2 separate regions of the Homo sapiens genome follow, and region 1 is linked to region 2. Evidence: promoter capture Hi-C in 16 types of primary human blood cells and fetal thymus (Javierre and others, 2016). All regions are on one chromosome and are shown on one strand. Each heading gives the region's core, a stretch centred on a gene start or on the middle of the fragment in contact. The rest is flanking DNA. Distances are from core to core; before and after follow the strand shown. Region 1 has its middle 33 kb from the start of PLEKHG3. Region 2 holds the start of GPX2 (glutathione peroxidase 2).

Region 1 (5,965 bases), core at 651-3,150, 270 kb before region 2:
CCTAAATAGGCCCACAGGCTCCCTTACACCTAACAGCTGCTGCTATTCTCTTGGGTTGGAGTGAGATGGTGGAGAATCAAAAGCTGTGTTTTAGTGCTGAAGCCAGTTCTTATTACAACTTTTCTCTGCAGTTTATAAACAATTTGCTCTTAAGATCTTAGCAGTCTTTCTGAACAATCCAGTATGTTTGTTTGCTGCTGCCCAGCAATGCCTGCATGTTTTTGTGGATTTTATTTTGTTTTTAAATTTTCTTCAAAAGCTGTAGTTTATTATAAGGGCAAAGGCAGCAATTATTGGCTCTCCAAATGCAGTCAATCTGAGTGTCAAGTAGATCCTTATTTCAGTCCTCATGGGTCTTGCTTGTTGACCTTGCTCCTGCAAGGAGTGTCTATGAGCTTGCCTTGGCCCTGGTCCTAGGCCCCTCTCTTTTTCTGTAACCTCAAACCCAGATGGCCATGCCCCTTGGATGATGTGGTAGTGGTACTATAAGCCCAAGGATCCACTAAAGGACTCATTTTGAGAAATTTGGCAAAAGAAGTTTGGCTCTATTAGGACATCTTTAAACAAGAGTGAGAGGACATGTGGCATCCTGGATGACTGCCAAGGTCGAGCTGGAGTTCTCTGGAGTGATTTGGGTGCTAAATCCTTGGGTGGGGTCCTGACTATGAACTGTTTCTTTATTTTCCAATTGTAACAGTCTCTGAAGGTAAAACTAGCATCAGCAGTATTAATCGTAATAACAATAGGAAATAGGCTGGGCGCAGTGGCTCATGCCCGTAATCCCAGCACTTTGGGAGGCCGAGGCAGGCGGATCACGAGGTCAGGAGATCGAGACCATCCTGGCTAACATGGTGAAACCCCGTATCTACTAAAAAATACAAAAAAATTAGCCGAGCGTGGTGGTAGGCGCCTGTAATCCCAGCTACTCGGGAGGCTGAGGCAGGAGAATGGCGTGAACCCAGGAGGTGGAGCTTGCAGTGAGCCGAGATCGCGCCACGACACTCTAGCCTGGGTGACAGGGCGAGACTCCGTCTCAAAAAAAAAAAAAAAAAAAAAAGGAAATATTTCAGCATACCTATTATGCACCAGGTATTAGTCTAGTCTCATTTAATCTTCACCATGACTCAGTGAGATACAAACTATTCTATTATACCTATATATTTTTAGAGATGAGGTCTCACTATGTTGCCCAAGCCGGAATGCAGTGGCAATTCATAGGCATGATTGTAGTGCACTACGGCCTCAAATTCCTGGGCTCAAGTCACCTTCCTCCCTCAGCCTCTTGCCAAGTCACTGAGAACACAGGTGCATGCCACCACACCCAGCTTTGGGTACTCTTTTTATGTCCATTCCACAGATGAAGAGACCAAGTTTAAAATGGATGACTTGCCTCAAATCACACAGCTATTGAGTAACAGAGCTAGGATTTAAAGGCTGGTTCATCTGACTCCACATTTCAGGAAGTCTTATTTGGGGGTTTCTAGAAATAAGAAGCCTTATTTGGGTTTCTAGAGAAATTTCTTTTTCCAAATCAACTTTATTTTCCCCAGACCCTTTTTGTGAACAGAGTTTACATCAATGAAAAGAAGGCTCCTACAGTGTGGCGTGAATGCCAGTGACGGGAACACCAAAAGCTCTGAACCTCAGGATCAGGGAGACCACAGCCTGCTCCTGGGATTGTCATGAGCCATTTGGCAGGAGGTGGATCTGCACAGTCATGGAGACCAGACTCCTAAGCAGGTCACCTAAGTAAGGTTTCCCTGTACGCTCTCCACAGGGCCTGGGAACTTCAGAATCTTGCCACAGGAGGAAGCTTGATGAGTATTCACCCTCTGATGTTGTAGACAAGGAAACTGAGGTCCAAGGAGATTAAGTAAAGTGCACCCTGTCTGCACGTCCAACATGGGTCTCCTGGCTCTCACACCATTTAGAGATGAGCCATTTTCTCAATAACAAAGGCAAGGCCCTGAGAGATAGTGTAATTGACCAAGCTTCTTCAGGACAGGGATGTGGACTCCACTCCCTTGGGGTCCAGCAAATGCCTTAGTAACAGTGGCTTGTGGATGGAAGGTGTTATTCAAGCCCTTGCTGGATGAATAAATTATATGCACCTGTTTCTCAAAGTTGCCTTAGTGAAAGAATCATTTGGGGCACATGTTAAAGATGAAAGTTCTAGTCTGAATACTAGACTAGAATGAGTCTATTCAGGACCCTGATAGAACAGTGTATATATATATATATATATATATATATATATATATATATATATACTTGTAAATATATATATATATATTTGCAAGCTGTATATATATATATATATATGCAAGCTGTATATATATATATATATATATGCAAGCTGTATATATATATATATGCAAGCTGTATATATATATATATATATGCAAGCTGTATATATATATATATGCAAGCTGTATATATATATATATGCAAGCTGTATATATATATGCAAGCTGTATATATATATGCAAGCTGTATATATATATATGCAAGCTGTATATATATATATGCAAGCTGTATATATATACACACACACACACACACACACACACACACACACACTATATATATATATATATCTCCACACACACTATATATATATATATATCCAGTATATATCCAGGCAGGACCCTGATACACTGTTCTCACTCTTGATCCAGATAATCCCTAACCCATTATCACCTCCCTTTCATGAACTGAAAGTAGTTTGTTTTTAGGTTTGGCTCTATTGCAGGGCTGGATCTATTGCGATTCTGAACACTCATTTTAACCATGACCTTCCTTACCTCCTCTAGGGGGCAGAAATGAACCACTTGTTCATTCTTTGGGGCTGAACTTTGCGACTTTCTCAGACTTTCATAAGAAAACAAATACCCAGAGGAGATCAGAAAGAAAGCAGATCTTATACATGCTTTTCTTACTAGGTTGAAATGCAGTTGCAATCTAGACTCCTCTAAGAGACAAAATACTGTTAGGCACTCTGGCGTTGAATTCAAGCTGACCCAAGTTCAAATCCAGAATCAAACAAGGGTTGGAGAATGCCTCCCATCTTTATGATCCTAGCAGGCTATTTAAATTAATGAAGCCTTAGTTTCTTGTTCTATAAAATTCTAATACAGTCAGCTTTCCATATCCACAGTTTCCACATCTGTGGATTCAACCAACCACAGATAGAAAATATTGAAAAAAACCCAACAATAAAAACAACAATACAACAAAAATAATACAGATAAAAACAATATAGTATAACAACCATTTGCATGGAATTTACATTGTATTAATATTTGACATGATAAGTTATCTAGAGATGATTTAAAGTATAGGAAAGTTGGCCAGGCACAGTGTCTCATATCTGTAATAACGGTACTTTGGGAGGCCAAGGCAGGAGGATCGCCTAAGGCCCCAGGAGTTTGAGATCAGCCTCGTAAACATTAGTAAGACCCTGTCTCTATAAGAACTTAAAAAAAAAATCAGCCTGGTGCTGTGGTGCACCTGTAGTCTCAGCTACTCAGGAGGCTGAGGCAGGAGGATTGCTTTAGCACAGGAGTTTGAGGCTGCAGTGAGCTATGATCATGACACTGCACTCCAGCCTGGGCGAAGGAGTAAGACTCTGTTACAAACAAACAAAGAAACAAAAAAGTATATGGAAGGATGTGCCTAGGTTATATGCAAATACTATACCATTTTATATCAGAAACTTGAGTATCCGTGGATTTTGGTATCCAAGGGGGTGCTGGAGCCAATCCCAGCAAGATACTGAGTGATGACTATAAATAATACCATCTTAACAGGATGGTTATGAACCTTATACTGCAACTGCTAAGAGAAAAAGTCAGCTGTTATTATTACCACAACTATTACTACTGCTTCCTATAAAGGCATGTGATTATTAACTCTGTTAGGAAGGTAGACTCCACTTTTTTAAATAGTTGGCTAAAGCTCTCTAAAGAGACATTCAGCCCACTCTTTTCTGGGTTCTGTACTAGGATGACATTTCACATCCTGGGAGCCAACAATGTGAATAACACAGAGGCTACATTAGACAGAAGGAAACGTGTTGGTTTCCTTAATAAAATCGAACTCATATTTCCTGAGATTGGCTCTGGCTGGCAGGAGACTCTCCACATGGGAAAAGCGGTTAGATCTCTTGGCTGTGTTTTGCCCTCCAAGGCTCACCTTTCCTGGGAGATTTCTCCCTCGTCTCACTGGTACCACCAATGGGTAAGGAAAGCCACACCTCACTCCACCCCACCCCTGGGGGGACTTCCCCTTCACTACCAACATCACGGAATCTGGCTTTGATTTGATTGAGGGTGGCAGTGAGTTTCTTTACCCAGAGACTTGGGGATTATCTTCTTTTTAGCTTCACCTGGAATAGCTTGCAATGTCGGGATCCTTGTTTCCTAAATTGAGATAATAAGAATGAAAATGATAGCAGTGGTTTCCATTTGTTGAGCACGTCTTCTGCGCGACGGCTTGCTCTCATTCCATCTGTACTACAACCCAGTGAATTTGTCCCCATGACGACTGTCATTGTAAAGATGGGGAAACAGAAGCACGAGGAGGAGGTTAGGTCACTTGCTCAAGGCCTCAGGGGTAGTCGGTGAAAGAGTTTAGGACGAGAACCCAGCAGTCTGAACTCACTTGGCTCTGAATGGAGGTGGATAACCACAGACACTGCCTTCCCACCCCTAGAGACACAGAGAGAGCTTCAGTTCCCTGGGTGTGACCCTTTGCTAAGGCACATGGTGGATGAAGAAGGTGTGTACAGCTCCTTTAGGGCAGTCAGCTTGCAAATGTCTGGCCTAGGTGAGAAGAGAGACACCTTTGAGGTCCTCCCACATCAGACAAATTGAGCCCTGCCCCTAAGCACAGATGCTGCTCCCTCTTGTCTTACCTTTTCACCTCCTTATTTATTTACCACTGTGAGGACAACACTCCACAGGGCATGTGAAGACACAGCCCCCGCCCTGGAGCCTCAGAATTTGTCACCGTCACTGGGAGTTGAGGAAATTGCAGTGTTGAGGTTTCTTGCTTCTTCCTCACTGAGAGAGAAAAACCCCAACTGTCAACAAACCTCAAACCCATCGATCAAATGATGCCTGCGGGCAGGAGCTGGGCAGCAGGGTGTATCTGTGGCAAATGAGATCACGAGAGGGCCTGGGCACAGAAAACAAGGTGATAGAAGACAGACGATGAGAAGAGAGGAGGAAGATTGTGCAGAAGGGGAGGAGTGCATGGAAGGGAGGGAGGCCCTTGTGCATGGATTCCCTGGGGAACCAGGCTGCCAGGGCAGAGGGCCAACAGGTGAGGAGGAGAGGAGGGGGCTATAAGTGGGGGGGATCTGAAGAAAGAGCTTCTGTGTCCTAAGAGGTGGGGGAAAAAAAAGAGAGAAATAACCCAAAGAAAGTGTTGCAGAGAACCAATAAGATTAGAATGTCAACGATCCAGACCCATGACCCTGGGGACTGTTGTCACACAAGGGTCTGGTGGTGGGGTTGGGGCAGCTGTGGAGGTTGCTGCTGGTCCCAGTTTTGTCCATATAAAGCAATTCGCAGAGAAGGCTGAGTGGAGGAGGAGGAAGCTGAGATAGTAAAGGAAATAACGTTTAAAAGTTTAGCACAAGCTGGGCGCGGTGGCTCAAGCCTGAAATCCTAGCGTTTTGAGAGGTTCATGTAGGTGGATTGCTTGAGCCTAGTTCAAGACCAGCCTGGGCAACATGACAAAACTCTGTCTCTATAAAAATACAGAATGTTAGCTGGGTGTGGCGGTTGTGCCTGTAGTCCCAACTACTCGGGAGGCTGAAGTGGGAGGATCACAAGAACCTGGGAAGTCAAGGTTGCAGTGAGCTGAAATCTTGCCACTACACTCCAGCCTGGGCAACAGGAGTGAGACCTTGTCTCAAAAAAAAGAAAAAAAAAAGCTACATTTTACATGATTTTATTCA
Region 2 (6,120 bases), core at 801-3,300:
CTTGATGGCTAAAGATTGTGAGTATGTAATTATCATTCTTTTCTTGAGTAGGCTGCTACCCAAAGACTGCTGCACCTCCTATCCACTCACTGCTCTCAGCTACGCATGCTTTGGCTCAAAACCTGGTCCCTGCCTTTCCCTCCCCACTGCCATCCCTGTCCTATTCCCTCTCAGCATCACCATTCATGACAATCCAAAAGGCCTATGGGAACCCTTCTTTTCCACCTCTACCTTTCCAATTTAACAGACAGATACCTTCCTCTGGGAGAAAGTTCCTGCTTCTGACCTGTGAGAACTAACTAGTTCAGTCAGTTCCAGGCCATCATGACATCATGAGCCCAGAGCTGATCTCTAGTGGACTTCTCTGTTTTTGTTTCTGTTTTTTTTCCTGAGACAGGGCCTCACTCTGTCACCTAGGCTGGGGTGCGGTGGCACAATCATAGCTCACTGCAGCCTCGACTTCCCAGGCTCAGGCGATCCTGCTACTTCAGCGTCCCAAGTAGCTGTGACTACAGGCACATGCCACCATGCCTGGCTAATTTTTGCAATTTTTTGTAGAAACAAGGTTTCACCATGTTGCTCAGGCTAATCTTGAACTCCTGAGCTCAAGCAATCTGCCTACCTTAGCCTCCCAAAGCGCTGGGATTATAGGTGTGAGCCACTGTACCCTGGCAGATTTCTATTTCTTGATACAAATGGCTGGCTGGCTCCTGGTAGGTTATAGACTCCCTCCAGCAACTTGCTAGGCTGAAGAGATGGTGTGAGGCTGGAGGTACTTCTGGGGCTGGAGGGACATCTCGAAAGAGGGTTTGCTACTTCTGTCTCTCCTGCTCTAGAAAAGGCCAGACAGAAAACTTAGGGAAGAACAGTGAGAGCAGTGAACAGTTTGGGCTCAGGTTTGTCACAGCCAGTGATGCTTCAGCCTTCCTGCTTTCCTGTCTTCCTCACCTTCATACCACTGTGAATTGAACTAAGGGGATTATAACGAGAGGGTTCGCTTGGGTTCATTCTCCCTGCTTGTACGTTAAAATCATAGGTGGAAATAGAAGAATCCCTAAAAGAGAACTCGAGGTGTGTGGGCTGAAGATCTATAACAGCTTGACCCATTAATCAGAAATAGGTGCATGTAATGCCCAGAGGCACGTGCCTTTTGAAAACCTTTCTCTTTCCTGCTTATTTTCTTTCCACTTGGCTAATTTAAACCAACAAAAATCATCCTCAATCTAAATAACAGTTTGCTTGCATTTGCATAGTACTTTATATTTTTCAAGTTACTTTTGTATATCCTGTCCCCTAAACATCATAATAATCCTATGAGCTAAGTGGTATTATCCCCAATTTACAGATGAGGAAACTAAACCGAAAAATGAAGCGCCCTTTCCGAGGGCACAGAGCCATTAAATAGCAAAACCAAGTCCAGCTAGAGCTAAGGTCTCTTGAGTCTGTCCAATTCTTGTTTGATTCCTGGCCTCTACTTTCTCCACTCATTTATTCAACAAATATTTAATGAGTGCTTTCTGTGCCCTAGGCACTGAGGACACAGTGGAGAGAAACACAGACCTGGAACCAGCCCTCATGGAGTAATATAGTAGAAAGACAGTAAACTATAAAAATCACACAGCCTCAGTGTTTAATCTTAAAAAATATATACCTTCTCTTGGTATGTCACATGCACCTAAAGACCTAGCTTAACAAAACATACCCCATTATTCCAGACACTCCAAAACATGGTCATTCAGCCTCTCCTTTTATCCCACCTGAGCTACACCAACCCAACACTTTTGGTGCATTACAAGGAGGGACCCCTCACCTGATGTCCAAATTGGTTGCAAGGGAAGCCAAGGACCACCAGGCGCCTGGGAAAGCGGCATTGCAGCTCGTTGAGCTGGGTGAAGTCCCGGGTGGTTGTGCCTCAGAGCGAAGCCACATTCTCAATCAGCACGGCCCTGCCCCGGAACGTATTGAAATCTACCTTCTCCCCATCCAGGCTGATGGCACTGAGGTCATAGAAGGACTTGGCAATGAAAGCCATGGTGAAGCGCAGAGTGAGCCCCGCAGAGAGGCCTGAGCCCACTTATGAGCCTATTAGAGGGGTGGGGAGGAAGGAGGAGCCAGGAAGGAGGACAGAAAGGATCTAACAATGGAGCTTTGAGCATCCCCAGGATGACTTAGCAAAAACAGGTCCCCACCTGTAAGTGCTGTTTGAACAAGGAGGTTGCTCCTCCTATTAACAGACTGAACAAGGCCGCCTCCCCGCCCCACCCTGCTGCAACCTGGGAAGGGCCAATTTGATATCTATGAGCAGAGGTAAATAATTCACTGCTTACAGGAAACCAGAGCCCTAAAGGTCGAATGGAGAGGAAAAAAAGGGAGGGAGGGATGCAGGATTGACTCCTACTTGCCCCATCAAGTTGTTCTCATTTGACACAGACGTTTATTGAATGCCTGCTGAGTGTCAATCTCTGAATTGTACAGTGAGAGGGCAGGGTCTGCGGAGATCTGAAAGATGAAGAAGAGAATTGAGCCTCCTATCCATGGGACTCAGATGACAACTGAAATATACATATTCCTGTTCACGTTCTTCTCTTTGTTGCTTTCCACCAGGACAAAATCAAAGGGACCCTTAGGAGGAGAGTGTGTCATTTTCTAGGGGAAAAAAGAAGTTTTCAGTGCCTCAGCTCTTGCCAGGCTGAAGAGACAAAGTTGTGTTTATCTTGAAAAGTCTTTCAGTGCGTGGTGCCACTTGTCCTGGAGAACACACCAGCCTCTGCCCCTGCACTGTACCATCTCCTATATTATATCCCCCACCTCCACCTCATCCCCCAGCCCCCAAGTCATGAGGCTCAGTCGTTGCTGGGAGAATGGTGAAGAGGAGTCACAGAACAGGTGGATAAACTTAGTGGATGAACTGCACCTACCTTCCTCTCAGACAGAGATTTGGTCCCCAAGACTTTTCAGAGCGGGTTTGTGCTGGTCACCTTCCCACAGAAGGAAGTGTGTGGAGGAAGTTGAAGCTGCTGTGGTTCCAGACGCAGGCAGGTCACCCCTGATGCTTTCAACAAGAGGCGTGCAGTGCATCGCAGGACATCTGCTAAGGGCCATCTCAGAGGCCCACCCCTGGAAGCCACAGAAACCGAAAAGACCCAAGCACCCGCCAACTCAACAAGTTACTCTTTTAAAAATGCCTTGATTTCTTCATCAGTAAAACTAGCAATGGGGCTTGACCTAGCTTTGGGATTTTAGAGTGAAATTTCAATAACAAAGCAAATGTTTACTAGGGTGTTTTCACAGGGGCACATCCATTGGGAACTGTCTCCTTGGAACAAAGAATAAGCAAGTCCGGGGAGCAGCTGGTCTTGAGAATCTGATTTGTTGAGATGAGATGAAGTAATTATCACCAGGGAGCGCCAAGCTGCCTTGCAGCTTTTCCATGGCTGTTCAAGTATACAGGGACCATGTGTCTCAGCTGGCTGCTCCCTAAAAACAAGTTTCCATTACCTAAGTGGACAGAAGGAGTGACAGGAAGTGTAGAGGGAAGTGTGTCCCCTGCTGAAGCTGGGTGGAGTTCCTAGAAGCAACCAATAAGAAAGAGTCCCCACCAAGCCACTGAGTCACAAGGACTTGGCACTGATAGTGGGCAGAACTGTAACTTGCCGGATTTATGTGCATACCTAGAGCTTCCCCCTAGTACTCTCTGGGCCTCCAGAGACACCTCTTATTCTCTGCTCTTTTGCAAGCCTTCTTCAAGAAGGCCATGGGAGTTCCCAAGATGAGGAGTGTGGGGGTTCCCTCTTCCTTAGGTACATGCCATCCCTTTTCTCCTGGTGTGACCTTGGACCCTTCAGACTCCCAGGGTTCTCACCTTTCCTAATGGAATATACTTGGTGAGGCTCTCCTAAAATATCTCTGTCTCCAAATTTACCTCAAACTGGCCTCGCTTTCCAAAAGCTTACAACTTTAAGCATACACTAAGCAGCGTATGATTCTTATGGCTTTCTGTGGGACAGTGCTTGCTCTGGACACAGCACTGGCTTAGGCAGAAAGCCTGGGTTGGTGGTTCTTAATTCTGACTGCAAATGAGAATTGTTTGTAGGAATTTTTCTAGAGATGCCAAAGCTTTGCCCTCCAGTGATTCCAATTCAGTGGTTTACAACCACAATTCTGCCACTGTTACTTCGGACCCTTAGGCAAATCTTTAAGCTCTTTTTATTGAGACAGGGTCTTTCTCTGTCACCCAGGCAGGAGTGCAATGGTGCAACTGCAGCCTTGACCTTCTGGGCTCAAGTGATCCACTGGCCTCAGCCTCACAAGCCACCACACTCAGCTAATTTTTTCTAGAGACAGTGTCTCACTATGTTGCCCAGGCTGGTCCCAAACTCTTGGGCTCAAGCAGTCCTCCTGCCTCGGCCTCCCAGAGTTGGGATTACAGGCATGAGCCACTGCACCCGGCCAAATCTTTAAGTTCTCTGATCATCTGTTTCCTTGCCTGTGGGACCTGGGTAGATAACCACCCTCCCCATCTCACACGGTGATGGTTAGGGTCAGAAGAGTTTATCTATCACTAGTGCCGGGTAAAGTGTAGTGAAAATCTTAAGACTACTGTTGTCCTGCGTTGTCCTACTCCTTTCTTCATTCAGTCCTTATCCCCAATATTCTCCACCTCCATCAATTCCATATCCCAAAGTATGAAATACCTGCAGTCCTGAGATCCCAGTCTGCCTCTGCTCCCCCGAGGTATCCAATCACAAATCTGAAAGATTATCCAGTCCCACCTCATGCCTTCAGGAAGACCCGTTCCTGACCCACACAAACAGATGAGACTCATCTTGGCTTTAAAACCTGCTCATAGATGTTCAGCATCCTCTCGATAACTGTGTTTCATCTTATTTCTGCAGTGCCAGCCCAATGCAGGGCAACGGGGCTTTGCTTTGGGCCTCCCTGCAGGTGGCACTAGGGAAGGTAGAGAAGGGAAGACAATGTTTGCCGCTTCCGTGGTCACTCTACTGCTGTTGCCTTTGCTTCTGGAGCTGCTTCTACCAGCACTGCCTCTCTCCCTCCCACATCACTGCCAGGGTCTGAGTGAGACCTACCCCCAAGGACTCATCCAGGCAGCCACACCGGTGGTTTGAAATAATCTTTATTTTGTAAACATCTGTGTTTAAAATAGATGAACCCTGCTCACAATTCATATATGGACCCGAGACACAGTACACGAAGTTCACCCGTCACAGGGAGATAGTGGAGGCTCAGGAGCAGGTGGCGTGCCTGGGGCTGGATGGAGTCTCAAGACAGCAGGTGCAGAGGTGGTGACGAGTAAACAGGCCAGCAGAGCCTGGTTAACAGTCTGGGCCTCAAGACATGCCCCAGGCCACCAAAAGTTTAGGGTGAGCGTAGCTGCACCCTAAAATCCCAATTCTCCTTCTGCTCCCATACCTTTTCCCAGTCATGGCCCTTGTGGATAGGGCCTATCAGTCTATAGAATCCTGATTCCATGTTTTCCCTTCCAGAACCCCTAGGGTACAGTACAAATATAGTCCTTCTTTCCTGAGGGGGCTAGGAGAGAAAGACAATGAATGGCACCCTGCCTGATCTTCAGGGAAAGCTGAAATACTGGTCCACAGATTGGAGCCACTGCCCAATATAACTTCTCAAGTCCCTGGCTGAAGACAGACTTGAGGGCTGGCATCACCTACTTCCCTAGCCCCAGTGTGATGTGGCATAGGTCTTGATACCCAAGGAGTCCCATCTTCAAGGAAGCAACTCCAGCCTAGTCACAGCTTCATCCTAGAGTTAGCTGTCTCCTTTTCTCATTAGCCAGTGATTTACAACTTCCTGCTCTCCTTTGCTTTCCACCATCTAAGCTATACCCTGTCCCTAAGTCCTGAGCCACCCTCTCCTGCTGTTTTCCTGGTTTGGTAAGTCAGGAGGAAAGGTTTGATGGTTCTTTCCCCACTTCTTTTTGGAGGAGTAAGGAAGTGAGGTTCTTATCCTTCACATATGAGTGCCCTGGATTTTGGTTCTTAGTTGATGAATACTCAACACCCAGTTCTTTGTTTTGGCTGCAGCCACGCAGTGCAGCTAATGTGTGGCTTAAGAATGACCCTCTTCCTAGGCCTCGCC

Evidence for each region. Contacts are between HindIII fragments. The CHiCAGO score rates a contact against its expected background, and 5 or more counts as called.
Region 1: a contact is called between a fragment that was not itself captured here and the fragment with the promoter of GPX2 in region 2, in 1 of 17 cell types (erythroblasts). The highest score is 6.2, in erythroblasts.

What each region holds. Positions count from the first base shown.
Region 1 is chr14:64,668,895-64,674,859 of GRCh38, forward strand. No RefSeq gene overlaps it. Among named protein-coding and RNA genes, the nearest start is that of PLEKHG3, 33 kb to the right of the region's middle. The HindIII fragment of the contact is 178 bases long and covers 1,812-1,989 here.
Region 2 is chr14:64,940,695-64,946,814 of GRCh38, forward strand. GPX2 (glutathione peroxidase 2) reads right to left here and starts at 2,051. Exons shown (of 2, transcript NM_002083.4): 1 at 1,811-2,051. The coding sequence starts at 2,032. The region is part of intron 3 of CHURC1-FNTB (CHURC1-FNTB readthrough); the gene reads left to right. It overlaps RAB15 (RAB15, member RAS oncogene family), which reads right to left. Exons shown (of 7, transcript NM_001308154.2): 7 at 5,122-6,120. The HindIII fragment of the contact is 4,140 bases long and covers 1-3,946 here.